Regions from separate parts of the Homo sapiens genome. Here region 2 is linked to region 1. Evidence: promoter capture Hi-C in 16 types of primary human blood cells and fetal thymus (Javierre and others, 2016). All regions are on one chromosome and are shown on one strand. Each heading gives the region's core, a stretch centred on a gene start or on the middle of the fragment in contact. The rest is flanking DNA. Distances are from core to core; before and after follow the strand shown.

What was found. The method cuts DNA at HindIII sites, captures the fragments that hold promoters and counts their contacts. A CHiCAGO score of 5 or more calls a contact.
Region 2: a fragment that was not itself captured here is called in contact with the fragment with the promoter of TFF3 in region 1 in 1 of 17 cell types (non-activated CD4 T cells); the score reaches 5.2 in non-activated CD4 T cells.

Annotation. Positions count from the first base shown.
Region 1 is chr21:42,313,990-42,320,470 of GRCh38, reverse strand. TFF3 (trefoil factor 3) reads left to right here and starts at 5,062. Exons shown (of 3, transcript NM_003226.4): 1 at 5,062-5,178. The coding sequence starts at 5,097. RefSeq lists enhancers at 1-469, 2,724-3,342, 3,343-3,962. The HindIII fragment of the contact is 10,232 bases long and covers 1-6,481 here.
Region 2 is chr21:42,584,557-42,591,037 of GRCh38, reverse strand. No RefSeq gene overlaps it. Among named protein-coding and RNA genes, the nearest start is that of LINC01671, 27 kb to the left of the region's middle. RefSeq lists an enhancer at 1-276 and a silencer at 4,349-4,398. The HindIII fragment of the contact is 5,612 bases long and covers 398-6,009 here.

The sequences.
Region 1 (6,481 bases), core at 3,813-6,312:
AAAGGCTTGACTCACAGGTATGAGCCAAGTCCGAAGGCCGAGAGTGGCTGCGGCTTCCCAGTCTGGTGGTGGGAGGACCTGGCTCCCCATGGGGTCCCCTGTGCTGTCTGGGGCTGTTGAACTTGGCTGCCTGCACCAATGCATTCAGGGACTGTCTCTGAGAACTGCATGCCATCAGCCCAGGTCTGGTACAAGAGGGGCTCCCAGCTGTCGGCCCAGGACTGGCTCAGTGCAGGACTGCAGACTGGAGTGCATCACACGGAAGGTGAGGTGACACGGTGCCTCCGGTGCCTGGGTGAGGGCCTTGCACCCTCCTCTCAGGCTCTGCTTCCTGGTAGAGCAGGTCTGGCTGCTGGGGAAGGGCCCATCTGGGCCCAGCAGGTGGGGCTGCGGGTGAGGTGCTCCTGTCCACCGCGGTCAGCTGCATTATTTCTGGCCGTCAGTCCATGCCTTTCTGGGAACCTTTCCTGTCCCTTGCACGTGGGGCTGATGCAACGGTCCCAAACCCACAGACGCTCTGGGTTTAGAGGGCTCTGTGGCTGCTTCTCAAGACGAGTGGCTGAAACAGCACCAAGTGCTCCTTGAGCTGCACAAGGGAACCCTGGAGCCCATGCCCCCTTCCGAGCCCACTGGGCTGCTCTGCGTTCTGACCTTCCTGTTTTACACGTGGTGGTGGCATTTGCTCTGCTCCTGGTCCCCACCCCCATTTGTCCTCAGTGGACTATGTGTCAAGACAGAAGCATCCTTGAATGGGTCACTGCGTTTGCCTCCCCAAAGCACCTACATTCAGGTCGTGATGACTCAGGAAGGGTCTTCGAGCCTCTCTCAGGGAGGCAGGAGGAAGTTCTGTGCAGAGTGAGGGGCGGCACCCATGGCAGCTGCAGACCGAGAGACAGCTGGGCAGCAGGGTGCTCCTGGGAGGTGTGCGGCCCTGGGCCACCCACGGGTGCTGATTAGCACAACTTCCTACTTCCTTCCTCCCTCGGACTGTCTGCTGCTTGAGTAATCGAGTGACAATACCAGAAAACTGAGCGGTGATGCAGACCCTATAACCTGCATGTGCCACATCAACTCTGAGTTTTCTGTGGGGCAGTGAGTTAGTGCAAAGTAGGCAGTGTTATGGCCTTACCTGCCCCTCTGCACTTTGGGAGGCTGAGGCAGGCAAATCACTTGAGGTTAGGAGTTTGAGACCAGCCTGGCCAACATGGTGAAACCTCAGCTCTACTAAAAATACAAAAATTAGCCGGGCATGGTGGCGTGCACCTGTAATCCTAGCACTTTGGGAGGCCAAGAGAGATGGGTTGCCTGAAGTCAGGAGTTCGAGACCAGCTTGGCCAACATGGTGAAACCCTGTCTCTACTAAAAATACAAAAATTAGCCAAGTGTGGTGGCATGCACCTGTAATCCCAGCTACTCGGGAGGCTGAGGGAGGAGGATCGTTTAAGCCTGGGAGGTGTAGGCTGTAGTGAGCTGAGGTTGAACCACTGTACTCCAGCCTGGGTGATGGGAGAGAAACCCTGTCTCAAAATAAAATAAAATAAAATAAAATAACTTAACATAACATAAAATAAAATAAGATAAGATAAAATAAAATGAAATGTGCCCCTCTGACCTTCACCCCTCCCATCTGGTGAACTTGTACTCATCCCTCAAGACCTAGTCAGATTTCACCCCACTCTGCCAGCTCTAATCATACTGCACCACAATTCATGCTTGAAGGCTTGTTCCTCCTCACCAGCCTGTGAGCTCTGAGGGCACGGGCTCTGCCTGATGTTCTGGGGCTCCCACATCTGCAGGCCGAGTGCCTGACCTGGGACCCATGCTCAGCTTGTGCTTGTTATATGCACGTGACAATGACCACGCATCCGGGAGGTGAAAGGTTGCAGCCCCGGCATGGGGGAGCAGACTGTCTTCTTCTTGGATCCATCCAGGAGCCCCTGCACAAGGCCCAGGGTGGGAGGGATTTGCAGGGCTCCTGGGACGGCCCACACCGCCACACCGCACACAGCTGACGAGGCTGCTGCAGGGATGCGGGATGCGGCTCCCAAGGAGGAAAGGGAGAGGCTCCTTTAGAGCCAGTCCTGCTCACCCCCAGGTCTTGGGTTGCCCAGGGGAGCCACCTGTCTGGGTTGGGCCCGATGCCCACTACCGCACGGCCTACAGCTCTGACAACAGCTCTGCTTTTTCTCTGGAACTGGAACTCCCCCAGGGGAATAGGGTGGCTGGGGAAGGCTGTGGGAATGCAGGCTCTGGAAGGCAGGTTGGGCTCTCCCATGCCATCCTCTGTTCCTGTACAGAGCCCAGGGCTCCTGGGGAGGGGGCTCCTAGAACAGAGAGAGGGGACACACACGGGCCTCCCCATTGACCTCTCCAGAGGTGCAGCCCAAATCCCCCTTCTCTGAGAAGCCTGTGCGTCTCCACCTGACAGGACCCAGCTCTGGCCCCCTTGCCACAGCCTTTGCTCCTACCAGAGCCGGGACCAGGAATCCTCTCCTCTGCCATCATGGTTGATCCAGCACACCCGGCAGGTGGTCAGTGTGTGTCCCAGGCACCTGGCTGGGCTGTGCAGCACCACTTCATGCTGTCCTGTGGGGTGAGCACCCTGTGACATGTAGGGAAACTGAGGTACAGATGGGACGTGACTTGCCCAAGGTCAGGCAGCACAGAACCTAGTCTTGGCTTCACCATCTTAACTCTGACATGATCCCGTCTCCCTTTGCGGGGGGACTCTTCAAGGACAAGAATGTGTCACCTTTGTTATTCCTTCCCCAGCCCTAAACCCTGGGTGTAGGCAGTAGGAGCTCAGTCAACATTCACTAGTTAAACGGAAGCAAACCCCAGCAGGGTTCTCGGTGCTGGCCGCAGAGAAGAATCACAGGCGACAGAACCACCTGTCAGGGCGGGGCCCAGGCATTGATATTCTCCCCACTCCAGGCAATTTTGAGTGCAGCAGGTGGAGACCACAGCACCTGCAGAAGCTCCTTGCGGGGGTCCTTCCCCAGCAGGTCATGAGGGCCGGAGGGGCAGCAGTCTGTTCCTGGGGTGTTTGCACCCTCCTGGAACTCAGCCCTGCACCACGACCTGGCCTGGCCTCTGGGTACTAGGAGCAGTGGGAAGGCAGGGAGATCTCACCAGATCCCCCAGGGAGATCTCACCAGATCCCCCAGGGATTTCCCCTACAATGACCTTTTTAATAACATGAAAATCCTGCTGTCCATTGATGAACCTGGGTCCGCTGTCTCCCAGAAAAAGTGAGTGCCCCGAAAACAAGGCAGGCAACGCTCTTTCCTTCTTCCTCCTTCGCTGGCCTCAGCGGGAGTGGCACATCAGAGGCCAGGGGCCCTCAAATCCATCCACAAAGGGCGTGCTGAGCGCAAGGGCGGGGCCTGGGAGTCACAGGGCAGGACACATCCTGGTGCTCAGCACGTACGCCATCGAGCTCCCATGGGTCACTCGGGGAAGGGCAGTTTGTGGATGCACCCTTGGAGGCTCAAGGCCGCCCTGCACACACCACCGGGGACCCCAGCTGCAGGCTAAATCCAAGCAGCCAGGCGCTCCCATTTCTCGGGGTGATAAACCAAGTCCACCCTTCAGACAGAGGCTCCTGGAAGGGCCAGTGGGGGTCATCAAAATGCCTCCCTGGAAAAGAAACACGGAGAACACAAAATCTAGGGGCCCGTTTTCCTGGAATGAGATTAGTCTCTTGCCCACTACCAGCCAGTCCACTGCAGGAGGTTGGGGGGTTGGGGGATGCTGCGGATGCCGAGGGCGGAGGCTTAGGGTCCTGGGAGTGGGTTAAATACCAGCTATACCAGGGACACTGGAGTAACCTCTGATAGGCACCGGAAATGTTGAGTCTTAGTTTCTTCCTCTGGAAAATGGATAGAATCATCGCTGTCTCATCTGATATGTTGTTATAAAACAATTCCTGAGATGTAGTCTTTAGTTTTTAAAAGAGCACGCTGGGCAAAGGTGGAGAGTCAGTTCCTGTTTGTGTTAAAAATGTGGCCGAGTGCAGTGGCTCATGCCTGTAATCCTGACACTTTGGGAGGCCAAGGAAGGCAGATCACTTGAGTCCAGGAGTCTGAGACCAGCCTGGCCAACATGGCGACACCTGGTCTCTAAAAAAATACAAAATATTAGCTGGACACATGCCTGTGGCCCAGCTACTTAGGAGGCTGAGGTGGGAGGATCACTTGAGCCCCGCGAGGGCGGGGGTCTCAGTGAGTTGAGATTGTGCCACTGCACTCCAGCCTGGGTAACAGAGCAAGACCCTGTCTCCAAAAAAAAAAAACAAAAAAAAAACAAAAAAAAAACAAAACAAACAAACAAACAAAAACAAACCAAAAAAACGTGCTTAGATCCAGAGAGAAAAATTCTGAAAGGATACCTAAAAAAGTGTTCACAATAGATCAATAGATGCCTCTGGATAGGAAAGGCTCTTTTGTATTATTTGATTTTAAAAATCAATTATGTGTACCATGTTTTTACTAACATATTTTCAATCAATTCATTTCATCCACTTATTAAAATGTAGTTACTAATTTTTAGGGGAGAAAGCAAAAAGGAAAGACAAGGAATCTCTGTGTTTCAGGAGTTGTGAGAGAGCCGCAGGGTCCTGACTCACTCAGAGCTGCCTGTCTCCGAGGCCGATCTGGGATGAAGCAGCCTGGGGCTCTCTTGTCATGGGACCAGGGGTGTTCTGAGGGCTTCTGGCTGGGAGGCTGAGATGGAACGGACACCACACCCTGGTCCTGCCACCCCACATGGCTCCTGCACACTACACCAGGCCAGGCTAGGAGGGCAATTGACACACATCCGCTCCCCAGTAGAGGACCCGGAACCAGAACTGGAATCCGCCCTTACCGCTTGCTGCCAAAACAGTGGGGGCTGAACTGACCTCTCCCCTTTGGGAGAGAAAAACTGTCTGGGAGCTTGACAAAGGCATGCAGGAGAGAACAGGAGCAGCCACAGCCAGGAGGGAGAGCCTTCCCCAAGCAAACAATCCAGAGCAGCTGTGCAAACAACGGTGCATAAATGAGGCCTCCTGGACCATGAAGCGAGTCCTGAGCTGCGTCCCGGAGCCCACGGTGGTCATGGCTGCCAGAGCGCTCTGCATGCTGGGGCTGGTCCTGGCCTTGCTGTCCTCCAGCTCTGCTGAGGAGTACGTGGGCCTGTGTGAGTACTGCCCTGACTGCCCCGGTGGCAGGGTGGGCGTGAAGGGAAGGGATCCAGGATAAGGGGGGATTCTGCATTCATTTAATAATGGCCACCTGTCACATATACACTTTTTCCTGCGCTAGCCCTTTGAAGTGGGTCTTTATTGTCCCCATTTCACAGACAAGGAAACCGAGGCTCAGAGAAAGTTAACAACTTATCCAAGGCAGCCCTGCCCAGTCTGTGTTGAAATCAGGGTTTGAGCCTGAGCCCATCCCCTATGACCCCATAGCCATCTTTGCTGGAGATTTCTAAATTACAATATAGGTCTTTATGCATTGTTCCACATTTACAAAGAAAAAGGAAAGATGCAGGAGAAAAACCCTGACTTCAGAACACTGTCAATACCGGCAGGCACAAGGTTCATTTAGCCATTGCATAGCAACCCTGCCATGGGGTGTGGCTGCTCCATTAACCCAAGTTTGAAGGAATGAGGGCATGGCTTTTATCTGGGTGTCTTCTGAGCAGGGTCAAAGGCAGTGGTTCCCGAACTTGCAGCCCATTAGAATCACCTGGAGAGCTTTAAAAATCCTAATGCTTGGGGCACACCAGTTACATCAGGGCATCTCCAGGCAAGATCCAGGCCTCAGCTGTTTTGTTTTGAGATAGCCTTGCTTTGTCACTCACTGCTGGAGTGCAGTGGCACAATCTCAGCTCACTGCAACCTCCGCCTCCTGGGTTCAAGCAATTCTTGTGCCTCGGCTTCAAGTAGCTGGGATTACAGGCATGCACCACCATGCCCAGCTAATTTTTTGGATTTTTAGTAGAGATGGAGTTTCGCTATGTTGGCCAAGCTGGTCTCAAACTCCTGGCCTCAAGTGATCCTCCTGCCTTGGCCTCCCAAAGTGCTGGAATTACAGGTGTAAGCCACCATGCCCAGCCAACGTCAGTCATTTTTAAAGCTCTGCAGCTGATTCCAGTGTGAGCGAAGTTTGGATGCCAGGAGGATAAGCAATTACGGACTGGGAGCAAGAGAAGGGAATGTAAGACACTGCACGTGATTGCCATTTTCCTAAGGAAATACTCAGTTCGTTAATGAAACGCAGTGAACTTCTGCTGCACATACAGACATAGAGGCTTGCCTGAAACATGAAAATATTGGGGACTGAAGGATGTCCCGGGAGGGTGGGACATGCTCAACAATTCAGGAAGGGGAGATGCAGAAAAAAGTGAAAAGCAGGCAGCATGCGTTGCAATGATCTCTATGGCGTGTGCCTCTCCTGTCACGGTTTTCATTTAAAACAAAGGGGCAAGGTTTTGTTGG
Region 2 (6,481 bases), core at 1,954-4,453, 270 kb before region 1:
AGGGCTGTTTCCGGAGTGCTGGTGACATTTGATTTCCTGCCCGGGAGAGCGCTTGCATGGGTGTGCAGTCACAGCTAGTTATTAAACTGTGCGTAAAGGCTCTCGGGGCCCTGGGGGCAGGCTCTGGGTTCTCAGTAAGCGAGTAGGGGGACCACAAGCTGGCACTGGATCCTCGGGGTCTGACCACAACAGGCTGTGGGGGCGTCCTGCAGCCTCATCCTCCTGAGCAGGATTCCTGCCTCTCAGGTGTCCACCAAAGTACCCTGCGCTTGTGACACGGCGCCCTCAGGTCACACTGGTGATTGCTGCTGCTGCCCCAACCCGCTAGCCAGGCCAGAGACACCTTTGGCAAGGCACGGCTGGGCCAGGATAATCGGCAAGTTTCAGGCCATAAGCTTATTTTGCCCAAAAGCAGTCAAATTAGTCTAAGGCAGTCCCTCTGAATTCCAGGGAATCCCTGCACACTCTCACACACGTGTGAATGCCTCAGAGCCCTCGGGGAGCCATTTGGTGCTATCAGGAAGTCATCAATAAAATACCTGAAGAGAAGACAAGGAGAAAGGATGACTAGGCCAAAGCTAGTGAGGCCTCTGGATTGAAAAGGCAAGAGGAAAACGCAGGCATAGATATAAACAGGGTGGCAGGCCCAGTGCAGGTAAGGGGAAACGCATGCGTGGATGTAAACGGGGCGGCAGGCCCGGTGCAGGTAAGGGGAAACGCCTGCGTGGATATAAACGGGGCGGGAGGCTCGGTGCAGGTAAGGGGAAACGCCTGCGTGGATATAAACGGGAATGGAGGCTCGGTGCAGGTAAGGGGAAACGCCTGCGTGGATATAAACGGGAATGGAGGCTCGGTGCAGGTAAGGGGAAACGCCTGCGTGGATATAAACGGGAATGGAGGCTCGGTGCAGGTAAGGGGAAACGCCTGCGTGGATGTAAACGGGGCGGGAGGCTCGGTGCAGGTAAGGGGAAACGCCTGCGTGGATATAAACGGGAATGGAGGCTCGGTGCAGGTAAGGGGAAACGCCTGCGTGGATGTAAACGGGGCGGGAGGCTCGGTGCAGGTAAGGGGAAACGCCTGCGTGGATATAAACGGGAATGGAGGCTCGGTGCAGGTAAGGGGAAACGCCTGCGTGGATGTAAACGGGGCGGGAGGCTCGGTGCAGGTAAGGGGAAACGCCTGCGTGGATATAAACGGGAATGGAGGCTCGGTGCAGGTAAGGGGAAACGCCTGCGTGGATATAAACGGGAATGGAGGCTCGGTGCAGGTAAGGGGAAACGCCTGCGTGGATATAAACGGGAATGGAGGCTCGGTGCAGGTAAGGGGAAACGCCTGCGTGGATGTAAACGGGGCGGGAGGCTCGGTGCAGGTAAGGGGAAACGCCTGCGTGGATATAAACGGGAATGGAGGCTCGGTGCAGGTAAGGGGAAACGCCTGCGTGGATGTAAACGGGGCGGGAGGCTCGGTGCAGGTAAGGGGAAACGCCTGCGTGGATATAAACGGGAATGGAGGCTCGGTGCAGGTAAGGGGAAACGCCTGCGTGGATGTAAACGGGGCGGGAGGCTCGGTGCAGGTAAGGGGAAACGCCTGCGTGGATATAAACGGGAATGGAGGCTCGGTGCAGGTAAGGGGAAACGCCTGCGTGGATATAAACGGGAATGGAGGCTCGGTGCAGGTAAGGGGAAACGCCTGCGTGGATGTAAACGGGGCGGCAGGCCCGGTGCAGGTAAGGGGAAACGCCTGCGTGGATATAAACGGGAATGGAGGCTCGGTGCAGGTAAGGGGAAACGCCTGCGTGGATGTAAACGGGGCGGGAGGCTCGGTGCAGGTAAGGGGAAACGCCTGCGTGGATATAAACGGGAATGGAGGCTCGGTGCAGGTAAGGGGAAACGCCTGCGTGGATGTAAACGGGGCGGGAGGCTCGGTGCAGGTAAGGGGAAACGCCTGCGTGGATATAAACGGGAATGGAGGCTCGGTGCAGGTAAGGGGAAACGCCTGCGTGGATATAAACGGGAATGGAGGCTCGGTGCAGGTAAGGGGAAACGCCTGCGTGGATGTAAACGGGGCGGCAGGCTCGGTGCAGGTAAGGGGCAACGCCTGCGTGGATGTAAACGGGGCGGCAGGCTCGGTGCAGGTAAGGGGAAACGCCTGCGTGGATATAAACGGGAATGGAGGCTCGGTGCAGGTAAGGGGAAACGCCTGCGTGGATGTAAACGGGGCGGGAGGCTCGGTGCAGGTAAGGGGAAACGCCTGCGTGGATGTAAACGGGGCGGGAGGCTCGGTGCAGGTAAGGGGAAACGCCTGCGTGGATGTAAACGGGGCGGGAGGCTCGGTGCAGGTAAGGGGAAACGCCTGCGTGGATGTAAACCGGGCGGGAGGCTCGGTGCAGGTAAGGGGAAACGCCTGCGTGGATGTAAACGGGGCGGGAGGCTCGGTGCAGGTAAGGGGAAACGCCTGCGTGGATGTAAACGGGGCGGGAGGCTCGGTGCAGGTAAGGGGAAACGCCTGCATGGATATAAACGGGAATGGAGGCTCGGTGCAGGTAAGGGGAAACGCCTGCGTGGATGTAAACGGGAATGGAGGCTCGGTGCAGGTAAGGGGAAACGCCTGCGTGGATGTAAACGGGGCGGGAGGCTCGGTGCAGGTAAGGGGAAACGCCTGCGTGGATGTAAACGGGAATGGAGGCTCGGTGCAGGTAAGGGGAAACGCCTGCGTGGATATAAACGGGGCGGGAGGCTCGGTGCAGGTAAGGGGAAACGCCTGCGTGGATGTAAACGGGGCGGCAGGCTCGGTGCAGGTAAGGGGAAACGCCTGCGTGGATGTAAACGGGGCGGGAGGCTCGGTGCAGGTAAGGGGAAACGCCTGCGTGGATGTAAACGGGAATGGAGGCTCGGTGCAGGTAAGGGGAAACGCCTGCGTGGATATAAACGGGGCGGGAGGCTCGGTGCAGGTAAGGGGAAACGCCTGCGTGGATGTAAACGGGGCGGCAGGCTCGGTGCAGGTAAGGGGAAACGCCTGCGTGGATGTAAACGGGGCGGCAGGCTCGGTGCAGGTAAGGGGAAACGCCTGCGTGGATGTAAACGGGGCGGGAGGCTCGGTGCAGGTAAGGGGAAACGCCTGCGTGGATGTAAACGGGGCGGGAGGCTCGGTGCAGGTAAGGGGAAACGCCTGCGTGGATGTAAACGGGGCGGGAGGCTCGGTGTAGGTAAGGGGAAACGCCTGCGTGGATGTAAACGGGGCGGGAGGCTCGGTGCAGGTAAGGGGAAACGCCTGCGTGGATGTAAACGGGGCGGGAGGCTCGGTGCAGGTAAGGGGAAACGCCTGCGTGGATGTAAACGGGGCGGGAGGCTCGGTGCAGGTAAGGGGAAACGCCTGCGTGGATGTAAACGGGGCGGGAGGCTCGGTGCAGGTAAGGGGAAACGCCTGCGTGGATGTAAACGGGGCGGGAGGCTCGGTGCAGGTAAGGGGAAACGCCTGCGTGGATATAAACGGGAATGGAGGCTCGGTGCAGGTAAGGGGAAACGCCTGCGTGGATGTAAACGGGGCGGGAGGCTCGGTGCAGGTAAGGGGAAACGCATGCGTGGATATAAATGGCGCGGCAGGCTTGATGTTGGTACTCGCTTCTCAGTTCTGTCCTGTGGCTACTCGGCCCTGACACTGGTCAACGCGGCGAGCTTGGCACTTCTTTTCCCCGCTGCTTCTCCTCAGGTGCTGACTGCAAGGGGCAGAATGAGTAAGGTCTTTCCCACGGGGTTCCCTTCCCTTCCCTTCCCGCGTCTCGGGCCTATTTCCCGGAAAGCTATTATTCCCCCCGCTGACTAAGTGGTGCCGAAAGCGTCTGAGGGACTCCAAACTCCTCTTCAGGCTTATCGTGAGCTGGTGTAGACAGAGGTGTTTCCATGCTTTAACCCAACCCTTCTACTCATGTAACTTTCCCAGCAGCTCCAAGGGCAGCCAAGGCCCCAGCTAAGGTTTTTGTTCTTACCAGAAGTAAATACAAAGAAATGTTGGTAACTTGCTGAGATACAGAAAGTGTGATGAGAGTCAGATATGCTGCATCCTGCTGCCCCAGGAGGCTGGGGTGACTCCTTCCCGTCTGCGGACATGTGGGGACACACCATGAGAGCCTCAAGGCTTCGCTGCCAATAGCAGGTGGACGATCAAGGGGTCGTGGGGACGTGGAAGAAGAAAGCCTTATTGAAAGCTGGTGCAAAAGGGAAAGAGAGGCCAAAGCAGCCCCAACCATGGCCTGCCTGCCGGGGGCCCCTGCTGTGGCCTGGTGGCTTCCGACCGTGGCCTGCCTGCCGGGGCCCCTCCTGTGGCCTGGTGGCTTCCGGACCGTGGCCTGCCTGCCAGGGCCCCTGCTGTGGCCTGGTGGCTTCTGGACCGTGGCCTGTCTGCCGGGGCCCCTGCTGTGGCCTGGTGGCTTCTGGACCGTGGCCTGCCTGCCGGGGCCCCTGCTGTGGTCTGGTGGCTTCCGACGGTGGCCTGCCGGCTTCCGACGGTGGCCTGCCTGCCGGGGCCCCTGCTGTGGCCTGGTGGCTTCTGGACGTGACAGCCCAGCCATGGTCCTGCTGGACATTTGTTTCCTGGGAGAATTCTTGGAGGCCTGGTCTCTGGTCCGTAAGGACGCATAATTCTCAAGCCATGTTTCCACTGGAGATGCTAATTTTGAGTATAGGCTCCTTCCCTGTGTTTCTTTAATGAATCAGTGGCTTAGCATGGAAGGAGAAGTGGGGTCTATTTTTCACCTTGCTCCAGAATTTTAGTGCTCACAGCCACCCTGGACCCAATCTCCTTGAAAACTCTCATTTTAAATGGGAGGGGAAGGGGAGCTATCGCTTACCAGGTTCTAGTGATCTTCTGGGGTGATGAGACGTGTTGACCTTGAGAGAGCTGGTGGCTGCACAGCACTGTGAATGCGCCAGACGCCACCGACCGTATGCTTTGAAATGATTATTTGCATGTTATGTAAATGTCACCTCAGTTCCAAAAAAAAAAAAAAAATAATAATAATAGCCCTTGAGACCCGGAGAGGCTGCCCCTCCAGAGCCACTAGCTCCTCCTTTTGGGCTCCAGGATGTCTGGGTGTGGCTGTCACTTCGTCGTGGGGTGCAGGGACTCCTTAAACGCACCTGCCATTTTTCTGCATCTCCACTCCAAGTTCCTTTTAGAGGCAGGCAGGGTGTGGATTTTAACAGTAACAGAATGTCCAATGCCTGCCTCATTTTAGAATTTCAAAGAGAGACAGAACCGTCTTGGTTATTACCAAGTCAAGGAAGAAGGGAATGGAATATTCTGGATCAAGATGCCTTCAAAGTCCGTGTTCACTGTTGGCCCAAATGACACATGACATCCACTCACCGATCCTGTTTTGGTCAAAAATTGGCCTGGCTGGTTGGGCTTGGTGGCTGACGCCTGTAATCCCAGCACTTTGGGAGGTCGAGGTGGTCGGATCATGAGATCAGGAGTTTGAGACCAGCCTGGCCAACATGGTGAAACCCTGTCTCTACTAAAAATACAAAAATTAGCTGGGCGTGGTGGCTCGTGCCTGTAATCCCAGCCACTTGGGAGGCTGAGGGATGAGAACTGCTTGAACCCAGGAGGCAGAGGTTGCAGTGAGCTGAGATGGCGCCACTTCACTCCAGCCTGGTGACAGAGCGAGACTCCGTCTCAAAAAAAAAAAAAAAAAAAAGTGGCTGTGGGCGTAAAAATCACAGGATGCCCAAACTTCTTATGCCAAAGGGAAGATTAAGCCTGGAGTGAGAATCATGCAACGCTGCATCCGTATGGACAGCTGTCATGAATAGGATACATCAGCCAGGTCCCCACAGAAAGGTGGAGGCCACAGCCGTCTGCAAGTGCTCCCACAGATCTTTCATCAGTACATTCTTTGCTGGCCTCCCATAAACAAGGACATGCCAATCATAAATTTAGGTGTGCAATGTAAGTCCAGCTCCTAAAATGAGAGTCTGTTCCATTCTATGCTGATAATGTCCTTTACAAGCTTGTCCTCCCAGGGGCAGGCCAAAGACAAGACGAGATCAAGTGTTCCTCCACCTACCCAGAGAAGTCTGCAAAATGGATTCCTCCTTTGCTCCCTTTTCTTCTTCAAATATTTACCTTATGTGAAATGCAGATTTACTGGGTGCTAACTGAAGTCTCACAAGAATGTCACCATTCACCTCACCTCAATGTCTAAATACCAAACCTCTTGTAAGCCTCTTTAGAAAAACAGCCACAGATGTGTCTGTGGCTTGTGTTTTCCTGGACATGCCCTAACGCTGGCAGAATAAACCTCGGTTGATTGAGATATTTACCTCAATTGCTTCTTTCAGTTACCAGACCTGACCATTGTTAAGCGTGTCCCAGAGGATGTTGGGGACCAATTCCAAGGATCAAGAAATTCTCAACTGGCAAGGGCTCCCCTGCCTTCCACCCTCCCCCCACTGTCCTTCCCAGCAGTCCAGGGTGCTGCCCA